3 separate regions of the Homo sapiens genome follow, and all the other regions are linked to region 1. The links are contacts of gene promoters, found by promoter capture Hi-C in blood cells and fetal thymus (Javierre and others, 2016). All regions are on one chromosome and are shown on one strand. Each heading gives the region's core, a stretch centred on a gene start or on the middle of the fragment in contact. The rest is flanking DNA. Distances are from core to core; before and after follow the strand shown. Region 1 holds the start of TM7SF3 (transmembrane 7 superfamily member 3). Region 2 has its middle 16 kb from the start of STK38L. Region 3 has its middle 11 kb from the start of ITPR2.

Evidence for each region. Contacts are between HindIII fragments. The CHiCAGO score rates a contact against its expected background, and 5 or more counts as called.
Region 2: a contact is called between a fragment that was not itself captured here and the fragment with the promoter of TM7SF3 in region 1, in 2 of 17 cell types (neutrophils and monocytes). The highest score is 7.8, in neutrophils.
Region 3: a fragment that was not itself captured here is called in contact with the fragment with the promoter of TM7SF3 in region 1 in 12 of 17 cell types (neutrophils, activated CD4 T cells, fetal thymus and 9 more); the score reaches 15.3 in neutrophils.

What each region holds. Positions count from the first base shown.
Region 1 is chr12:27,013,014-27,015,854 of GRCh38, reverse strand. It overlaps TM7SF3 (transmembrane 7 superfamily member 3), which reads left to right and starts at 1,471. Exons shown (of 12, transcript NM_016551.3): 1 at 1,471-1,777. The coding sequence starts at 1,687. RefSeq lists a silencer at 1,279-1,778. The HindIII fragment of the contact is 5,016 bases long and covers 1-2,462 here.
Region 2 is chr12:27,226,921-27,229,761 of GRCh38, reverse strand. No RefSeq gene overlaps it. Among named protein-coding and RNA genes, the nearest start is that of STK38L, 16 kb to the left of the region's middle. The HindIII fragment of the contact is 3,906 bases long and covers 1-2,841 here.
Region 3 is chr12:26,842,378-26,845,218 of GRCh38, reverse strand. No RefSeq gene overlaps it. Among named protein-coding and RNA genes, the nearest start is that of ITPR2, 11 kb to the right of the region's middle. RefSeq lists a silencer at 1-143. The HindIII fragment of the contact is 5,050 bases long and covers 1-2,841 here.

The DNA of each region.
Region 1 (2,841 bases), core at 222-2,721:
ACTTTGGGATTTTGTTTTCACAATTAGTGTGAGATAGAGTTCTGCTTCTCTCTGCCCATAGTGCAGCTAATCAGTTAAGAACACAATTTATTGAATAATCCATCCACTGATTCAGATGCTACCCTTATCATAATTGTCCCTTTCATCTTCCTTGGATTTCATCTACTGAGGGTTATAGGAATAGGGGCATGTGGGAGAGTGAATAAGCACTACAGAAATAGATAGTGCTACCAAAGGTGTGAAAATTTGGACCAGGCAGTGGGAAAGCAGAGAAAGAATTGTGCCTATGACAAAGATTATTTGCTTGGCCAAACTCTAGTACGGCTTCTGAATCTTCTGCTAGGTCCATCTGTGCACTTCTTTGTAAAAATCCAGTTTTAGCAAAGAACCCCCTTTCCTCCATATCTAATCAGTTTTCTCACCCTGCACCATCCCCCAGGTGATGTTATGTCTTCAGAAGTCCTGTTAGGTCAGTTTCACCAAATGCCCCTTACCTCTGATGCTTCCTCTTAGTAATTTTCCATCCACTGAACTCCATACTGCTGGTTGGCTATAAATTCCCTCTTGCCCACGCTGTATTCGGAGTTGAGCCCAGTCCCTCTTCCCCACTGCAAGACCCAGTTGCAGTGGTCCCTATGCCAATTGAGACAGTCCTCAATAGTCTTCGTTCGGTGCTTTAACAAGTATCATTGAATAATTTTGTCTTTAACACTTCTTCACATTATGGTCACAGCTATATATTGTTAGCTTAGTAGTGGACTAACTGAACATGTAATTTCCAAGCTATAAGTTGCTCATCAAAATATATAAGTGAAAAAAATTAAAACCAGGGAAGGAAAGCAAGACAATCCTCCCCAAATAACGTTAAGTCTATGCGTCTAATTCCACATCATCGATGAGCCATCTGTCACATGGACTACTGTCCCTCAAACAGCACTCAGGTATGAGACTTGAGACGAAGTTCAGACCAAGGCCGTGTCTTCGAGGATATTTCGCTTAGAGAAAACGAAACTACTTTTAAATGTAGTGCTTATGACTAGTGCGGTAACCACTACACAAACAGCATTCTCCTGGCATTTTTATGCTAACATAAGCCTCAGCAGCGAAGACAATTGCTACCGGGGGAAATAACCTTCAATTGTGTTTTTAGCAACTGATTCCTCTTTTTTGCTGTTGTAAAGGGCCGTTAAACACGGAAACAGGAGCCTGGCGACGTTAGTCCGCAACAGAAAGTTATTTTGTACTTTCACAGTGGGTTTGCCTACTTGGTGAGATAAAAGTGGGGCAAGACCGGGCCTCAAGCCAGGACTTCCTGGGGGCTCCCGGGAGCACCGCAGGCTGCGCGTTCCCCGCGCGCCGGCAGGAGGCGCGCGCTGCCTGGAAACGCCCCAGCGCCGCCCGCGCCCAGAGACCCGCCGCTGTGACGCAGCGAGAGCCCGGGAGGAGGCGCGGGAACGCGCGTTGGGGGTCAGGTGCCGGAAGAGGAAACCTCTCGCTGGGGCTAGGAGTTCGGCGGGGCGCGCGCCGGCGGCTGCGGAGCTGGCAGGTGCGAAGCGTCTGCACCTGGCGGGCGATGGCGCCCGATGCGGGCGCCCCGGGATAGCGTGGGCGAGGCTGCGGGGCCCCGGCGCGCACGCCCGCACCTCTCCCCAGCCCTGGCGTGGGCCCAGCCCGGCCCAGGCAGCAATGGGGTTCCTGCAGCTGCTGGTCGTAGCGGTGCTGGCATCCGAACACCGGGTGGCTGGTGCAGCCGAGGTCTTCGGGAATTCCAGCGAGGGTAAGGTCGGGGCGCCTGGCTTCTGCAACCCAAAGTTGCTTTTGCATTTCTTGCGAGGTCAAAATCCGCCAGGGGTCTGTCAGCCTAGCAGGGAGATGGTGCTGGGGGCGTTGGTACACGCTGGGTGGTGAGTCCAGAACCGGCACGAATGGTGTTTCCTGCAGCGGAAACACTCATGGCTAAGGAGGTCTTACTATTAACCTCCTCATTTAGCGGAGGAAATGGGAAGAGATAAATAATTCTCTTTTTTTAACACAGTATTATCTCCCTTAGGGAGCAGCCATGTTTGTGGCTTTAATTCAACTTACTAAAGCGCCTCTTTGCTGCCCAGTGGACTGTCTGAGCTTCTGGACAGCAAGACTTGGGGTGGAACTAGCGGCTTAATGACTGATGGCTCTCAAGCTGCATGGAATTTTTACACCCCCAAATCTAGAGGCTTTTCAAACTGGTTATGTTCTACAGAGTTTGAGAGGGAAAATGAACCCATAATGAGGCTTTATTTTTAAAGAGCCTTTACCATCTAATTTATTAATACCATCTGGAGACAGGAAAACATTCCATACTCACAATGAGAAATAAAGGACTTTCTGAATTACAGATACATAGACATACAGATAGAATGTGTATACCCTCAATTCTACAAGTTCAGCCACAAATGAAAAATAAACACAGAAACACAAAAGCTTGCCAGTCCAGGTATCAGAGTTGTTCTCCTTACTTGAGGGCAAGAAATTTCTAATCGATTTGACCTTAAAAAAGACAAATGGACAAAAACTGTGTTCTCTGTTGTCTCATATCCAACAGGAAATAGATCTCTATGAGATATTAATTCGTTTACAGAGATCACAAAATTCCCAATCATTGCAGCTACCAACAGGAAATAACTTGTCATCCATAAATGAACTGTAAAAAATAACAATTTAATAGAGAGTAAAACTAAAATGAGAAAAACAAGAATCAACGAAGTTCTATTGCCACTTCAAATTCACCTGTGGGAGCCAAGAAGCAACATGCCCGGGCTTGGCTCCCTATGAGTACACCATTTTTGATGATTTCAGGTGACT
Region 2 (2,841 bases), core at 239-2,738, 210 kb before region 1:
TTGCATTCCAATGAGGGACATAGAAAAGATGTAAAGAAATACATGTGTGAGCTAATTGTAGGTACTGATAAATGCCATGATGGAAAATAAAGCAGGGAAAGAAGTGTACTGGTGCAGGTGGAATGGACAAGGACAGTCTCTCTGAGGGATGACACTTGGGCTGAGGCCTGAGTGAAATGAGGAACTAACTGGGTGATAGGAAACTCTGGGAGAAATGTATTCCAGGAAGAGGAAACAGCAAATGCAAGGTCCAGCTATAGAAATGAGCTTTGTGTGTTTGAAGAGTGAGAAGAAAGTAACCGTTGCAGGAATGTTGGGAGTGAAATAAGTGTGGTAGGAGATGATCTCTGAGGAATAAGCAGGGCCCTTCTCTACTGTGTTGGCTGGGACAAGACATCATTGGAGGGTCTTGAGCAAGAGAATAAAGTGAGCAGAATAATGGAAGAGTATGGGAAAAGGGGGCCTTAATGAGCTAGAAGTATGATTGAAATGATGGAAAGTCTTAAGGATCAGGGCAAACAATTAAAAGGAAAAAATGGAAAGTCATTTGAAACTCGAGGGAAAAAAGGTTGTACAAGAAAATCAATATAATCTTAGCACATTACATGGCTCTCCATTGAAAACAATAATATAAGTAATTTTCACTGACTTTTAACTTTTAGGATCAATCTATAATAAAACCAAAATAGATTTCATTATGTTTGCATAAAAGGTAAGAAGAAGGATGAGGCATTAATGAAATAGGGAGTTAGGAGATCTTATCTATAGGTTAATGGACAAGAAATAGAGGTTTAATTATTTAAAATTTCAAAAGTAAGCAACCGAAGAACTAAAAATGTTTAGTTAAATATATTGGCAGGAGAGGAGAAAGGTGAGTATAGTTTTGGAAGGGAACTAAATTCTCAATGATCATAGCAGGAAGTCAGTAGATAATGTCTGAAGTTGATCAATCAATCAAAAACGTAAGTATAAGCATATTATTTACAGAAGTGGAGGTAACCATTGGAATTACAAGTTCTGGCCTCTGGAGAGAGGGCCAGAGAAGAAAAGTGAGGGGCAGAGGATTATTACTTGTTGTTATAAGCCCTTGAGTCTTTAATGTTTTTTAATAGCACATATATTAGTTTGACTTTAAAAACATTTTAGGCCAGGAACAATGGCTCACACCTGTAATCTCAACATTTAGGGAGGCCGAGGTGGGTGGATAACTTGAGGCTGGGAGTTCGAGACCAGCCTGGCCAACATGGTGAAACTCTGCCTCTATTAAAAATACAAAAACATTAGCCAGGCATGGTGGCACACACCTGTAATCCCAGCTACTCGGGAGGCTGAGGCACGAGAATCATTTGAACCTGGGAGATGGAGGTTGCAGTGAACTGAGATTGCACCACTGCACTCCAGCCTGGGCAACAGAGCTAGACTCTGTCTCAAAATAATTTAATTTTGTGTATATCAATCAATCAATAAATAAATCTAGACCCACCAAATCTATTTGTCTACATGAAGTCAAGATTTTCTTTTATGATCCAGCAATAGGTCCAAGTGAAATAAAATGATCTACTTCTTTTTTTTTTTTTTTTTTTGGGACAGAGTTTCACTCTTGTTGCCCAAGCTGCAGTGCAATGGCATGATCGTGGCTCACCACAACCTCTGCCTCCCGGGTTCAAGTGATTCTCCTGCCTCAGCCTCCCAGGTAGCTGGGATTACAGGCATGTGCAACCACACCTGGCTAATTTTGTATTTTCAGTAGAGACGGGGTTTCTCCACGTTGGTCAGGCTGGTCTCAAACTCCCGACCTCAGGTGATCGACCCGCCTTGGCCTCCCAAAGTGCTGGGATTACAGGCGTGAGCCACTGCGCCCGGCCAAAATGATCTACTTCTAAAAGATCCACCCTGAAGTGTCTATACATGAATGTAGGAGGATGGGAGTGAAGAAGCATTAAACAGAGCTAGCGGAATAGCACAGTAGTTAGGAGCATGGCCTCTGGAAGCAGACTCTGTGAATTTGAATCCCAGCTTTGCCTCTCACTAACTGTGTGACCTTGGGAAAGATACTTTACTTCTCTGTTCCTCAGTTTCCTGTAAAATGGGGGTCATAAAAGTACCTACCTCATATGGCTTTAAGCAGTAAATAAGTTAATCTTTGTAATGTATAGATAAAACAGTGTCAGCTGGGTGCAGTGGCTCATACTTGTAATCCCAGCAATTTGGGAAGCCTAGACAGGAGGATTGCTTGAGCCCAGGAGTTCAAGACCAGCCTGGGCAACATGGTAAAACCCTATCTATACAAAAACTTTAAAAATTAGCTGGGCATGGTGGCACGCAGCTATAGTCCTAGATACTCAGGAGGCTGAGGTAAGAGAATCGCTTGGGCCTGGGAGGTGGAGGTTACAGTCCAGCCTGGGTGACAGAGTGAGACCTTGTCTCAAAAAACAAAACAAAAAAAACGGTGTCTGCACGTTGTTGGCATTAAATTCATATTTCTTTAAATTACAAAGCACAGTATGATTTGAGGGCAATAGAAGAGTGTTCCAGCCAAATTTCTCTCTCCTACAGGTATGAAATTCCATTATTATAGATTTTGTTGAAGGATTTACAATATTTTAGAATGCTCCATGAATAGAGTTCTCTTGAGAGGAATTACATCTTAAATTCTCATTTGCTCCAAACTTGTTTGAATTAATCAAACCCTTTCCAACCTTGATCCTTATCTGAACATAGGGCATCCTTGTTAGGTAGCTGAGATAGAGGAAGGGGCTGGTTTGCCAAGAGAGTAGAAAGCATCAAAAAGGGAGGTGAGAAGACAGTTCCACAGGGAACTAACTAGGAGGACTCTAGGCA
Region 3 (2,841 bases), core at 194-2,693, 170 kb after region 1:
ACTGCACTCCAGCCGGGGCGACGAGCAAAACTTCGTTTCAAAAAAATAAAAAAAAATAAAAAAATAAAAATAAAGTCATCATATAAATCATTTTACATATTATTACATATTCTTAGTAAGAATTGCTTACTATACTCCCTGGCAGCTGCTACAGTGTAATCACTAATTTGCTACTGTTCAATATTTATTTTCTTCTCCATGCTTATTATTATTACTATGATAAACATAATTGTGAATAAAGCACTTTTCATACATAGGATTATTTCTTTAGGTTATATTCCATATGTCCACATTGCCATTAAAATGGTTGTACAAAATATGATATTGGCTGTTTGACTAACAGCATTGGTTACAATAACTAAAAACTTTTATTTTGCTAATCTAATGCATGAGAAATGATATCTCACTATTATATTACTTTTATTTTTTTGCCTATAACCAACCTTTTGCCTATAATATTTGTTGCAAACTATTCCCACTTTGTTGTTTTACTTTCAGTTGAGTTTTTTGTTACATTTTAAAAATAGAAGAAAAAATACATATATAATTTACCATCTTTACCATTTTAAGTATGCAGTTCAGTGGTAGTAAACACATTTATATCGCTTTTTGTTCCCTTCACTCACCCTTTCCCCTTCCCTTACTGGTGTTAGAATTTTTACATAAAAATTTAAAGTTGTAAGAATTAAACTTACTTCATAATTTGCTTTATGTTTTTATATTAATGCATATGTATTTCTAAGCATAGGTATCCCCTGTTCTTAAGATGGTAAATATTCAATTCCCTTTATTTTGGTGAATTTTGAATTCAGATGAATACATTAAGTCATTAAATATAAAATTAATTAATTTATTTTTGAGACAAGGTCTCACTGTGTCACCCAGGCTGGAGTGCAGTGGCACCATCATGTCTCACTGAAGCCTCAAACTCCTGAGCTAAAGAGATCTTCCTGTCTCAGCCTCTGAGTAACTGGGACTATGGATGTAGTTTTTAAAATTTTTTAAATTAAATTTTTTTTTTTTTAAGATGGGGTCTGGCTATGTTGCCTAGACTGGTCTCAAACTCCTGACCTCAAGTGATCCTTCCACCTTGGCCTCCCAAAGTGCTGGGGTTACAGGCGTGAGTCACTGCACCTGGCCCTGGATTTATTTTTAAGATACGTGATAGCTTAAAACTGCTAAACTAGTATTCTCCATGTAAGTAAATAACATCATTTCTTGTATAATCTCATGCTTTCCCATTGATTTCTTATACTTTCTTTTTTATATATTGAGTTCTTACAAATAATCAGGACTGTAGACTGTGGTACTGTGCCTATAGGTACAAAAAACAGGTACAAAACAGCTTCCTTCACATCTAGGTGTTCACTCTGAAACAAAAAGTACAACTCAGAGTTCTTGCCTTAAACAAATTGATGCTAATTAGTTGGGTAATCAGGATGTATACATCCGAAATAATGCACTAAAGTAGACCCACATTACTGCATTTCAAACTAGATTCATAAATGAGAGAAAACAAAGGTAAACTTGGGGGAATCACAGGGGTGAGAAAAAGGACTCCAGGAAGTTTTCCCTGGATTTATTCTCCCTGGTTTTGCCCAACCAAAGTATTATGTCTTCCCAAAAATCAGGAACCACAAGCATGGCAGCATTCTCTGGTGTTAGATGGCAGTTTTCTCTGTGGGTTTTATCCGCTACCTTCTTTGAAGAGATAAAAAGCTGTCAGCTTGTGGAAAGCAGAGTTCTCATGTGACAATTGTGGGTGGTTTTATAGCACCAGGCTGGAAATTTAGCCATTTTGTTTCTTTTGTCTCAAAATTTGCTTTTCCCTGATGTCTGAAACGTGTCTGTTAAAAAAATTGATTTCTTTCTCTTACACATATTTTTTAAAAAATTCAAATTCCTTGAAAAAGAAAAATTTAATAATTATCAAGAATTTTGCCCTGGCTCAGTGTGGCTCATGCTTGTAATCCCAGAACTTTGGGAGGCAGAGGCGGGTAGATCACTTGAGGCCAGGAGTGCAAGACCAGCCTGACCAACATGCAATACCTGGTCTCTACTAAAAATACAAAAAATAGCTGGGTATGGTGGTGGGGGCCTGTAATCCCAGCTATTCCAGAGGCTGAGGCAGGAGAATCACTTTAACCTGGGAGGCGGAGGTTGCAGTGAGCTGAGATGGCACCACTACCCTCCAGCCTAGGCGACAGAGCAAGACTCATCTTAAAACAAAAAACAAAAAACAAAAACAAAAAACAACAAAAAAAGAATTCGCTACAGTTGATGGAAGGGATTGATCTGTAAATGGCAGAGCTGGTGGCCCAGAGGCTCTGGAGACAGCTCTGGTGTGGGCTCAGTCACTGGCATGTCTTATTGCATAGACAGAAACACCTCTGATGCTTGGTTTTCTTATGACATTTCATGCTGCTTTTCTCACAGATAATCATAATCATAATAATAGCTAATATTTATTGAAGTTGGATGTGGTGGTTTATGCCTTGTAGTCCTAGCTCCTTGAGAGGCTGAAGCCAAAGGATTGCTTGACCCTGGAATTCTGGGATGCAGTGAGCTATGACTGCACCACTGCACTTCAGCCTGGATGACAGAGTGAGATCCTCTCTCTAAAAAACAGCAAAACAAAACAAAAAACATGAAAGGTTATTAAGCACTTTATGCCAGGCACCACATCAAGCCCCTTAAATGTAACTTCTAATTTAAACCTCACAAAGACCACATGAGATAGATACCATTATTGTCCTCATTTTACAGATAAGTAAAACGAGGCCCCAGAGGTTATGTATTTGCATAAAGCCTGGTAGAGAGTAAATTGTGAATTAGTAACTC